Regions from separate parts of the Homo sapiens genome. Here region 2 is linked to region 1. The links are contacts of gene promoters, found by promoter capture Hi-C in human tissues and cell types (Jung and others, 2019). All regions are on one chromosome and are shown on one strand. The core of a region is centred on a gene start or on the middle of the fragment in contact, and the rest is flanking DNA. Distances in the headings are between cores, read along the strand shown.

Region 1 (6,539 bases), core at 128-2,627:
TCTAAAAGACTAGTTCTTCATTTACAGAATGGGAATATTCATACTTGTCCGGTCTATCTCCAAGTTGCTGAGAGGATTATCTAAAATAAAACTTCAAAGCAGGATAATCACTCCAGAAATCCATATATTCATAAATTTCATCCTCTGCAACAACCATTCACCCATTCCTATAGATTCTCTTCCCTTCCACCTCGTTCTTCTCTTGAGCCCTCAACTCATCAGCCTAAGCACCTGAGTTCCTCTGGTGGACGCTACATTCCTCTCCACGGCCTCCACCCTCCAGGTTTTCATCCTTCAGCACATCACCCTTGCTCTACACACCCCTCTCTCCAACTTCCCCTCTCCTCTTTCAAGGAACTCACTCCATCTGTGCCCCCTAATCAGTCTATCCTGGGTACCCGCTTTGCTGGCCGATTACAATCATCCCATCACTTCTCTACCCCTGTTCAGTAGAGAACAGCTTTATCCAATCAGCTTTACCACACCAATACCCTCAAACCCCACTACTGCCCCCAGTTCACAAACACCCACCCTTTCACTTTTCAGTCAAAACACAATTGCTCAGGCAAATCCACGGCGACTGAAAGTAGATCAATAGTGTAGGGGAGAGAAGGAGGAGTGACTGCTAATGGGTACGAGCTTCTTTGGGGCGGGGGGGGCGGTGATTAAAAATGCTCTGGAGTTAAGGGTGGTGATGGCTGCTCAACCCTGTGAATATACTAAAAACCACTGAGTTGTACTTTTAAAGGGTTAATTTTCTGATATGTTAGTTATACCTCGATAAACTATGAATGTAAAAAGAAGAAAGAAAAACCCAACAGCTATTGCTCACCCTGCCCATCACACGCCCATTTGTCAGACCAACACCGCCCCATCTCCGGAAGCACCGACTTGGCCTTCGGTATCCCCCAACTCCCAACAGCGGACTCGGACAGAGGTCCGTCCGCTGTCAGCACAGCCCCTCCGGGTGGCCCAGGCGCCCGCGGGCAGGGAAGGGAGGGTCCCTTCGCCGCCGCCCCGGGGCGCTGGCCGGGTTGCGGAGGGTGGCCCCTGACCCCCTCTGACAGGAGGCCGGGGACAGCCAGGCTTTCGGGCCCGGCCGCGCTGAGGGGGGCGGCGCTACAGCCCACCTGTCTCAGCCGGCTGGGGGATCTGCTCCAGCTCCACGGACCCGCGGACGGATGGGAGGGTGGCAGAGGGGTCAGGAGAAGTCGCTGTCGCCGCCGCAGCCCAGGTGGCGCACACCGGCTCAGGCCTCCATGTTTCCACGTCTCAGCGGGTACAGATCCGGCTCCGGTCCGGCCTGCAGCTCGGCCCCGGCTCGGCTCCAGCCCGGGCCGCGTCGGTGCGGAGGCCAGGAGGCGGCGAGAGAAGAGGGAAGCGACCGAGAACGCGGCTAGGGACCAGACCCCCAGGCGCGCGCGCCAGCCAGGTGGTCACGTGGCACGCGGCGCGCGCGGGCTTCTGGAAACTGTAGTCCTTTGGGTGTTATTCGTGCCTCCGCCCTCCTAGTACCTCCTGGGCTACCGCAAAGCCACGTGGCGAAATCGAGAAGCGCAAAAACAGCCGTGCGCGGTGGCTCACGCCTGTAATCCCAGCACTTTAGGAGGCCGAGGTGGACGGATCACGAGGTCAGGAGATCGAGACCATCCTGGCCAGCATGGTGAAACCCCGTCTCCACTAAAAATACAAAAAGTAGCTGTTTGAGACAGGATAATCGTTTGAACCCGAGAGGCGGAGATTGCAGTGAGTCAAAAAGTAGCTGTCTGAGGCAGGAGAATCGTTTGAACCCGAGAGGCGGAGATTGCAGTGAGTCGAGATCGGGCCACTGCACTCCAGCCTTGCGACAGAGCTCGACTCTTCTCAAAAAAAAAAAAAGAGAGAGAGAGAGAAGCGCAAAAACCTCACCTGCCGGGTGCTAGAGTCAACCTCACCTGCCAGGTGCTAGAGTCCTCGCTCATGCTACACCGCTCGTTCTGGCGGCTTAACCTTATTAAGGCCTCTGTTAATTGCAGCTGAATAACCATCCCAAAGTCAAGCAATATTGTGTGGGATTCTGGAGAATTGAGAAATAGCAAAATAATTTTTGATGGAGGCAGCTGGCAGGGCTAGCCCTGCCTGCAAAGTTGTCGGAAAGGACAGGTCCCACGGGAAAGAGTAGCAATATGAGATAGTGCCAAAACTATGGAATTTGAAGTCAAATGAGCTGAGGTTTCCACACTGACGTCTTTGAGCAATTACTTCACCTCTCTCAGCCAGTTTCCTCACCTAAAATATATGCATGATGATGATTCTGCCATTACAGGAAATGTTGACATGACTGTAGTAATAACAATTCACATTATGGATTATTTTCTATTTGCCATGCACTATTATTTCGCAAAATGACCCTATGGAACAGATAGCACCGTTATTCCCATTATATAGTCAATATGTGCCAGTGTACTCTGTAAAGTACTATACAAATATTAGGTATTCTTTTCTAGCATAGACTGCCAGTAAATTCACTGAGCTTGCAGAATTATGACAGGAAAACATATTAAAACCCAAAGTAGACTGGGCCCTGTGGCTTATGCCTGTAATCCCAATACTTTGGGAGGCTAAGGTGGGAGGATCACTTGAGCCCAGGAGTTCGGAAGGACCAGCCTGAGCAACATAGCGATACACTGTCTCAACAAAAAATACAAAAATTAGCTGGGAGTGGTTGGCACACCCTCGGTCCCGGCTACTCGGGAGGCTGATGTGGGAAAATCGCTTGAGCCCGGGAGGTTGAGGCTTCAGGGAGCCATAATCTCACCATTGCACTCTACCCTGGGCAACAGAACGAGACACTGTCTCAAAAAAAAAAAAAAACCCCAAACTACCTAACTAAAAAGCCATAGACACTACTATGCAGTCATTGTAAAGAATGCTATGGATGCATATTTATTTGAAAACATTTTCATGATACACTGAGTGGAAACATATATAGTATCAAATTTTCATAAGTGAATTATATTAGGTTGGTGCAAAACTAATTGTGGTTTTGCCACTTAATATAATATTTATATTAATATATTAAATGATATATTAATATAACATATGTAATATATGTTTACTATAATATTTATAATACCTATGTATATGTGCTGTTGGAAAAAAGACAAATAATATTAACAATATTGCAACTTTGGGTAATGAGATCCTGTGTGGTTAAAATTAGTTTTTCCCTATGTTTTCTAATTTTTCTGCAAGGAATATGAAGTACATGTACAATTTTATTTTAAAATTACAGCAAAAAGAGACTCAGGGCTGGGCGTGGTGACTCATGCCTGTGATCCCAACACTTTGGGAGGCCGAAGCAGGCAGATCACCTGAGGTCAGCAGTTTGAGACCAGCCTGCCCATCATGGCGAAACCCCGTCTCTACGAAAAATACAAAATTAGCCAGGCATGCGCCTGTAGCCCCAACTACTCAGGAGGCTGATGCAGGAGAATCACTTGAACCCAGACGGTGGAGGTTGCCACGAGCCGAGATCATACCCCTGTACTCCAGCCTGGGTGACAGAGCCAGACTCTGTCTCAAAAAAATAAAAAATAAAAAAAGAGACTCAGGCATGAAAACCTAACTCAAAATATTTTTTAATATTGCCTGGCACACAGTCTACTTTCCCCAGACTGACTCAGCAACAGTTGTGAGCATCTCCTCAAAACTGGCTTTATAGACCTAAGAAGCAAAATATTTTATTTCAAGGGGATCCTATTAGTGAAATTTTACATCGTCTCCCTTTGGTCATTTTTGGATGACTTGAAATAAACAGTCTTGCCTGTGTTCCTAGGCAAATGTTATAATGTTGCTAGGCAAATATCATAAATCGGAAGATAAGATTAGGAATATTTTTTACTACGTAGGAAGTGTTGAGTTAGAGTAGCAGTCCTTATGCACCTTTTTTGTACATGTAATGTGCAAATTATTATCCTTGGACACCAACTTTCAAAACTGCCTGCAGAAGTATGATGGCCGGGCGTGGTAGCTCAAGCCTGTAAATCCCAGCACTTTGGGAGGCCGAGGTGGGCGGATCACCTGAGTTCCGGAGTTCAAGATCAGCCTGGCCAACATGGTGAAACCCCGTCTCTACTAAAAATCCAAAAAAAAAAAAAAAAAAAATTAGCCAGTTGTGGTGGTGCAGGCCTGCAGTCCCAGCTACTCAGGAGGCTGAGGCAGGAGAATTGCTTGAACCTGGGAGGCAGAGGGTGCAGTGAGCTAAGATCGCCCCACTGCACTCCAGCCTGGGTGACAGAGTGAGACTGCATCTCAAAAAAAAAAAAAAAAAAAAAGTATTATGATAACTTTGGCTGACTTGACAACTTCAGTGTCTAGTTAGTGCAGGAACAGCAATAGAAAATGTATGAAATCCTTCCACTAAATCCAATAGGATATCCTGGACTGCATCCTGGAATTGAAAAAGGCAATAGTGGAAAGCCTGATGAAACCTAAATGAAGTTTAGAGTTTAGTTAACAGTATTGTACCAATGCTGATTATCTAGTTTTGACAAAATGATGCTGTGGTTATATAAAATGTTAACGTTAAGGAAAGCTGGGTGATGGATATACGGTAACTCTCTACACCTTGCAGCTGTTCTTATTACTAAATATTACATTATTCCACGTGGTGGACAGAATACTTTTTTTTTTTGAGACGGAGTTTCACTCTTGTTGCCAAGGCTGGAGTGCAATGGCACAATCTCAGCTCACTGCAATCTCCGCCTTCCAGGTTCAAGCAATTCTCCTGCCTCAGCCTCCTGAGTAGCTGGGAATAAAGGCGCGGGCCACCACACTAATTAAAAATTAGCCCAGCTAATTTTTATATTTTTAGTAGAGACGGAGTTTCACCATGTTGGCCAGGCTGATCTTGAACTCCTGACCTCAGGTGATCCACCTGCCTCAGCCTCCCAAATTGCTAGGATTACAGGTTACATTAAAAACAGGAGGAAAAGAAGAATGGAGATGTAAAGTGGAGCCAAATATCCTTCAAGCCCTGGTAGGCCTCTGAGGTTTCTATAACTACAAGTTTGCAAGGTCTGGACTGCAAACAGACTTCATGTGTCTTTAGAGCTGGAGGGGGACTGACTTTCTTTGTAGAAGCTAAAGGGCCAGAAAGGACCCATACGTAACAGAAGGACCCTCTGCAAGCAGGACCAAGACAGTCCCCAGATTATTGTCTTGAGGCTGTTCCAAGAACAGCACTCAGGCTTCCACTTCCCCAAGAAAGAAGAGCAGACTTTGGAGTCAGACAGATCTGGGTTGAATTCTGGTTCCACAATTTCTGAGCTAAACGATTTGGGGAAAGCTACTTAACATCTCTGAGCCTCAGTTTTCTCCTCATGAAGGTGCTGTGAGAACGAAATTAAGTAATGCATGTAGCGTGTCATTTTCAATGTTAGTTCATCTGCATAATCCAGATGGTGGACAGCTCGCATGTCTTAGTTGCCAGCACCTGGCCACTCCTCCAAGGAGGGATGAAGGTCAAACAGAACCTGTCCAGGGAAGGGCAGTCAGGATGGTGAGAGATCTGGAAATTACGTCCCATGTGGAAGGGCTGAAGGAACTGAGTATGAAGAACTAGACTAAGAGGAGACTTGTGATAAGTAGAACCATCCTCAGGGGGGCATGATTAGACTTATTTTCTGTTATGCCAATGAGCCAAATTAAGACCAAGTTTTCGAAGTTACAGAATGCAGATTTCAGCTCCATATAAGAACTTTCTGAAAACAATATCAGCAGCAATAATTGTCAATTCACATTACAGGCTGTTTTCTGTGAGCAAGGCACTGTTATCTTATTTAAGTCTCCAAATAACCCTATGAGAAAGGGTGCAGTAGAAAGTTATTTAATGACTCAGGAATCACTTCACCATAGGTGGTTCAGTGAAATTAAGCTTACTAGTAGTGAAATGGTCTATGTGGAAGAGAAATGAGATCCCAATCACTGCATGTGTTCAAGCAGAGGCTGGCTGAACAGGTAGTAAAATAAAGTTACAACAGCGTAGGGAATGTTAGTGATTTGAGTTCTAGGGACATGAGAGGATTCCGACAGAGATGCACAGCCAGTGAGCTGCACAAATGACTGAGCAAGCTCCTGAACCGGCGTCCTCTAAGGCCTCCTGTGGTGCTATGGTAATGAATTCCTTGCAAGGCCAGCTGTTAGCAGCAAGACTCAGAAAGTGCTGCAGAGAGTTTGAATGCTCCAAAAGCAGTGACTCCAGCATTCCTGGGTATTGCCTGCCTGATAAGGTAAGAAGCTACACAGTTCGTTCTCCAGTCCCTCCTGCATGCAGGAGAGCTTAGATGCACTCTACAGAGCCCCCATTCATTCTTCCTTTTCCTGAGCCCTTAGCCTAGCCTGGGGAAAGAGGTTGAGACAGCCTGATCACTATGGGTCCTGGTGGCCTTCTGGCCATCAGAAAAGATGTCAGAGGAGCAGTTCTGATGGCAGAACTTAGGGAGGGGGCACAGTGCAGCTGTCACTGTCTCCTTCCTGTCTGGGACAAATTAGGAAAA
Region 2 (6,590 bases), core at 145-2,644, 590 kb before region 1:
CAGGCCAGGCACAGTGGCTCAAGCCTGTAATCCCAGCACGTCGTGAAGCTGAGGCAGGAGGATCACTTGAGCCCAGGAGTTTGAGACCAGCCTGAGCAACATGACAAGACCCCATCTCTACAAAAAAATATATATATTTTTAACTAGCTGGTCGTGATGGCACACACCTGTAGTCCCAGCTACTCAGGGGGCTGAGGCAGGAGGATCACTCGAGCCCAGGAAATCAAGGCTGCAGTGAGCTGTGGTCGCACCACTGCACTCCAGGCTGGGTGACAGAGCAAGACCTGTCTCTAAAAAAAAATAATAAATAATATGGCCAGGAGGCCAGGCATGGTGGCTCACGCCTGTAATCCCAACACTTTGGGAGGCCAAGGTGGGTGGATCACTTGAGGTCAGTAGTTCAAGACCAGCCTGGCCAACATGGTGAAACCCCATCTCTACAAAAATACAAAAAAATTAGCCGGGCATGGTGGCGCAGCCTGTAATCCCAGCTACTCGAGAGGCTGAGACAGGAGAATCGCTTAAACCCAGGAGGCAGAGATTGCAGTGAGCCAAGACCGTGCCATTGCACTCCACCCTGGGTGACAGAGCGAGACTTAATCTCAAATAATAATAATAATAATAATAATAATAATAATAATAATAATAATAATAATAATATGGCCAGGATCCCACAGCTGACCTGAAGCAGAGATGGTTCAAGGGTGATGCTCTGTCTCCTAGTCTCATCACCTGTGCCCACGTCTTTCAAGTGAACCCCTACTTGGGTCCCACCTTGTGCTGGGGGTGCTATAAGGAAATAAGCAAAGGAGACAATGCCTTAACCACCTTGGCATGGTCAGTCTCCTGGGAGCTGGAATTTCCAGACAACAGACAACCTCTCATAGGCCTAGCCCAACTCTGGGTAGGTCCTGGTGCAGGGTCCCTGCCTGTGGCATCTGCTGTGCTACAGAGAGCCAACACCTGGCCCAGGCCTTCCAATGGGGACCATTCAGGGCTTGACGAAGCTTCACTTTCCAGCCCCAGAGAGGAAGGACCACCATTCCCCTCCCTTCCCAGAACAAATCAGGTGAAACCCAAATACCCACCTAGGCCAAAAGAAGAAAACTTCCAGTGGGAACCAAGACAGGCTAGCAAGGTGAAAAGAGACTTATTCTATAGCATTTCCCCCAAATAACAAAAGTGTGATTAAAGCAGGTGAGAAGCCAATTTTAACAACACTTGTATGCATACACAGACCCTTGCAATTCTGCACACTCTAAAATCTTACTTTTTGTGGCTTAGAATGTTTCAGCACTCAGTGGAGTTTCTGCAGCCAGCAGTCACACCTACAGAGTTTCAAATCCGTGTAAACGCTGTGTCAGCCTAACCACCAGTGTGATTCTGTGTCATTCGGGGGCAAATGTTGATGTTTCTTGGGTAAGTGAAAGATCATGCAGAGAGCTTCCGGAAGACCATCCTTAGGAGCTGAACTGAAAGAAGGCCTCTCAGAGGGGCCACAGCCTCCTTCTCCCTGTGCTAGAGACAAGTCCCTAATAGCCATCTATGCTCAATGGGACTCAATGTGTCTCGGGAGCCTGGAAGCCTTTTTCTGCCCCATTCCTGACATCATGCCACCTACACATCAGACACAAGGCACCCGGCCCACTCCATCACCTCCAGTTCCCAGAAATGTGCAGGGAGCTCAGGTCAGGGCTCTTGAATCTCCTGCTGACCCAGCAGAACATACGACACAAAGGCATCTCAAAGGCAAACAAAATGGGTGGGAGGGAGGCTCATGGCCCAGGCGCGTCATCAGTGCAGTCCTGTTCAGCCAGGGCAAGGCTCAGCCGGGTGCAGCTTAGAGGAAAAGGAGAAGTGCTGAGGCTGAGCAGGTGGGGAGGGACTGTAACTCATGAGGTGTGTCGCCAGATTGGAAAGGGGGCTCAGGGTCCGTGTTGCCTAGCTACTGCCATGTCACTGTGTGACTAACAAGCCCCAAATCTCAGGAACTGCAACACAGAGGTTCACTGTTCCTGATCACAGGTCTGCAGATGGGCTGTCTCTGATCCACACCATGGCCTCCCTTTCTGGTGAGAAGGGGCAGAGCTCAGCATGCAGTGAGTCACAGAAGTTAGAAAGCACGTGCCTCTGTCTACTGCCACCTCTTTCAGGAAGCTCTCCCTGACTGCTCCCTAGTCAGGGTTACAGATCACCCCTCGGGGCTCCCACAGCTGCCAGGGATGTTCTGCCACAGTCCTGCTCCCTGGGCATGGCCATTGGTGTGTAGATGGCAGATGCCTGCTGAGGATGAGCGTGACTTCGTCCCCTCTGTCTCCCCAGCACTAAGCCAGGGCCTGGCCCCAGCAGGTGCCCCATAAGCATGTGGGGGATGAAGGGAATGGTCCAGGTACTAAGGGACTGAGGGGCTTGGGGAGGGAAGAGCCAGCTGTGCCTGGAGCCACATACTCGAGGCAGGGCACTCAGGGCCAGGGAGGAATACAGGGTGGGGCACGGGCAGGGCCTTCCAGTGGGGAGGGCTGGGGGTCCTCAGGGGCCTGATGTCTCACTGTCTAGAGAGGCCTGGAGGTGGGTGGGGAGTGCTCTGTGGTCATGGGTGCCAGAGTCTTAGCCAGTGCGGAGGGCACCTTCGTGCCAGTTAGGAGGTGCCCTTCCTCCAGGTGCCCAGCCCTGCCCCAGAACCCTGGGAGCTGCCTCAGACCCACAGCTGGGCACCCTTGTGTAGGACACAACCTGGGCGCTGCATGTGAGACTCTCTGGGTGTGGAGTGTGACTGTGTTGTGTGGGGGTGCGGGATGTGGTATATACGCACACACGCAGGGAGCGGGGTATGTGTGGTTGGAGAGGGTTGCGTTGTGTGTTGTGTGGGGTGCGGGATGTGGTATATACGCACACACGCAGGGAGCGAGGTATGTGTGGTTGGAGAGGGTTGCGTTGTGTGTTGTGTGGGGTGCGGGATGTAGTATATACGCACACATGCAGGGAGTGGGGTATGTGTGGTTGGAGAGGGTTGCGTTGTGTGTTGTGTGGGGGTGGGGGATGTGGTATATACGCACACGTGCAGGGAGCGGGGTATGTGTGGTTGGAGAGGGTTGCGTTGTGTGTTGTGTGGGGTGCGGGATGTGGTATATACGCACACATGCAGGGAGCGGGGTATGTGTGGTTGGAGAGGGTTGCGTTGTGTGTTGTGTGGGGTGCGGGATGTGGTATATACGCACACGTGCAGGGAGCGGGGTATGTGTGGTTGGAGAGGGTTGTGTTGTGTGTTGTGTGGGGGTGGGGGATGTGGTATATACGCACGCACGCAGGGAGCGGGGTATGTGTGGTTGGAGAGGGTTGCGTTGTGTGTACATGGTGTGAGAATGGAGAATTAGTGTGGTATGCGTGTGGTGTATGTGTGTGTGCTGTGTGTGGGTGTGTGTGATGTGGGGTGTGTGAATTTGTGCTGCACTTTGCAAGCCTCCCAGGCTGGGTGGCCTCTGTGCAGGGAGAGCTGGGAGGCCTAGCTGTGAGGGTGCCACGTCCTAGAGCCAGAAACACAGGTGTCTCAGTGGCCAAGCCTTCGCCTGCCCCTGGGAGTGGGGCCGGCACGGGGTCTGCAATGGCAGAGAACGGGCTGAAGGTCCTCAGTGGGCAGGCACAGCTGGCCTCCCCTCACGAAGGCCCTTCCTTCCAGAACTCTGGACTATCCCTTAGTTAGGGAGGGAACGGTCTGGACAGACTGAGCCGAGGAAAATATTCCTGGTCAAGGGATGCCCTCAGCTTGAGGCGCCTGGTCGGAGGCTCAGAAGAGATCTGGGGGAGATGCCGGGTCCACACAAGGATGATGTTCTGGAAACCGGAACTGCCCAACGGTGGAGGAGGCCGCTTCCTAAGGGAGCAAAGCCCCACACCCTATGCCCTTGATGAGTTCCAGCAACACTGCGGCCCCCTCAGCCATGGTGTTGGAGGAATCTCCCCTTCACGGTGCAGGGCATGGGTCAGAACACGACCCCACAGACCCCTCACCCTCCTGGGTTCTATAGAAGCAGTGGGGATGCCGGGGCCACCTCCTTCCATCAATTGCACCTGCTGCCCCTCCCCAGAAGTTCCTCCATCGCTTTTCCCCAGTGGCCCCTCCAAATACTCCAGGATACCAGGATGTGGAAGGCACTTTAAAGCCACCCTCTCGTTTTACAGATGAAGACCCTGCGGCCCTTACAGGGAAGGGACTCGCCCAAGGTCACAGAGGTACAGCTAACACCACGGGCACGCCTCGAACCAGGCACCCACCTAAGCGCCCTCATCTCCTCACGCCACGCCCGAGGTGGGACCTTCTCCATCTTACACAGGGGAGGACTTGGCCTGGGGTTGAGAGAGGCCAACATGGCCCAGGTCACAGCACTAGAAAGACGGCAGGATTCTCACAGGGTCCCCTCTGCTGCCAAGGCCCTGCTGCTGACCCTGACGCACACACTCGGTGTCCCCCACACAGCGATGAATCAGATACGTCCACAGAGAGAGGTAGGAAGAGGTTTAGTGAGGCCAGGCAGCTCACTCGGCTTCTTTGAGCCTCGGTTCATCTGCTGAAAATGGGAATGCACAATCCCATCTTGCTAGACTGTTTGGAGAAACAGTGCATGAGCTTTGAGTCCTCCACAAATTACGGCTCTCTTCCCTCTTAACCACGAGACTCGCCCGCCTTGCTGGGTCTGTCTGCTGCTGATTCTCTTGGGCAGTGGGCGTGCAGTAAAGCCTATCTGCTCTCCCGCTAGGACCCACTGGGACTGGGGTCAGTGGACAGGTGTTGGTGTGGGGTTTGGCTGAACTTCTAAGCACTTTTGAAGCTGAGACTTAGGTTGCTGGCCTCACCATCCTCAGTGAAGCACTAACAAATGAGCCAAAGAGTCACCCACCAAACGCCCCACTAAGCACCCATCAGCTGACCCTGAACACCTGCTGGGTGCAAGACAGAGCTGAGCCCTGCCCTGGGAGATACAGAAGGAAGACACACCTGCCCTACCCTCAAGCCGAGTGTTGCCACTCTAATTGAAGATTTAAGGCCAGTCGCTGTCCAGGTGAATGCCACAGTCCCTTCCTGTGTTCCCAGTGGGGAACCTGGCAGGCGGCGGAGAGGGCGGCATGTAAAGAAAAGCCCACAATGAGGTGTTCTGCTGACCACACACAGCTGCACCTTCTGGTGATGGAGTCGTTAATACCTGGAGAGGGGGCCACCCAGCGAGGCAGTGGCGTAGGGACCCAGTCTCCTGGTGGGGAGCTGACCCAGCACACGAGGTCGGCCTCAGGGTGGGCTGCCAGTGTGCAAACAAGTGCTGCCTGGGGTCAGGCAGACAACGGTCAAAGTCAGAGTCTCTTTATCAGAAGAAGACAGGAAGAATTAAGGGAGACATCTTCCTGCAGCATGCAGAATGGATTAAAGGGGAGAGGAACGGTGAGGAACAGCAGGAAAACCAGTTAATTGGCCAGGTGGGAGGCACCTCCATGGGGGAGGAAAACTAAAGAGGGTTCTGCGGGCTCTGATGTTCAGCCAAGGCCAGCTGTCTCCATCGCGGGCGCCTGGCATGGTGCAGAATGAGGCGTGACACAGACCTTCATTTTCTGTAGCTGTAATCTACCTCTTTAAATAGCAAAACTTTTTATTTTCATTTTTTGGTAGCAATCTTTCCCCGGGGGATCCTCCACATCCCAAATTTCTCAGAAGTCAGCGTGTGTTGACTTCCTTGGTGACTCAGGTCCTTCTGACAAGGCTAATGAGTAGACTAGACTGCAACACGGGGTTAGCCTCAGGATTGTCAAGGTAGACCCCGTCTGCCTTGCTTTTTTAATTACTGGATCTGCATTTTACAATTGTTCTCCCTTCTCTGTCATCATAAAATTCTTCTTACTACTATCAGTATACCTGTTGTGGCCTGAGAAACTAGACCACCAAACTTACCCAAACTATTTGCCGAGTAAGAGGAAATAGGCCCTGAGTGAGGGCCTGAGGGGCATTTTCATACCAAAAAGCATGAGCTTTCCTGCATGAATGGGGGTTCGAAGCCACCCATTGATCTGCTCAGAAACCATCTTTGCCTGCTTTCTCATCCCCGGTGACTTTCAAAAGTATGGGACCTGCCAGATAAGAAATGTTTTGCTGACCTAGAATTAAAGTTGTGCTAGTCCCTGGGGTCCTCCTGAGGGGCCCCTGAGGTTGGCTGGGGTTGGGGATGGGACTTATTCTAGTTTTCCAGGGAGGAAGGCTGAGCCTCAGAGGATCAGAATGGGCCAAGATCAGACAGTGAGTCAGGGTGAGTCATGCGGCCTCGAGGCCACACCACACGTCCCAGCATCAGAGCTGGGCAGAAGGGAACTGGAGGCCCCTGCTCTCAGGGAAAGGGCACTGGATTGAGAGTCGGCAGAGAATTCTAGTCCTGCTTCCACCCCAACCAGCTAGGTGCTCATGAAAGTGTTCTTTGGGCCTCAGTTCCCCCATCTGTAAAAGAAGGATGGGTATGTTAGATTTTAAGGTGGGTTCTCTGTGATTTATTTATTTATTTATTTATTTATTTATTTATTTATTTATTTTGAGACGGAGTTTCGCTCTTGTTGCC

What was found. Contacts are between HindIII fragments. The study calls those that stand out against the background at their distance.
Region 2: a contact is called between a fragment that was not itself captured here and the fragment with the promoter of DYM in region 1, in 2 of the 25 tissues and cell types used here (IMR-90 fibroblasts and lymphoblastoid cells).

The regions. Positions count from the first base shown.
Region 1 is chr18:49,459,268-49,465,806 of GRCh38, forward strand. DYM (dymeclin) reads right to left here and starts at 1,378. Exons shown (of 18, transcript NM_001353214.3): 1 at 1,131-1,378. RefSeq lists a silencer at 777-1,356 and an enhancer at 5,865-6,539. The HindIII fragment of the contact is 14,393 bases long and covers 1-6,539 here.
Region 2 is chr18:48,867,218-48,873,807 of GRCh38, forward strand. No RefSeq gene overlaps it. Among named protein-coding and RNA genes, the nearest start is that of CTIF-AS1, 29 kb to the left of the region's middle. RefSeq lists enhancers at 1,472-1,581, 6,162-6,456. The HindIII fragment of the contact is 7,300 bases long and covers 1-5,044 here.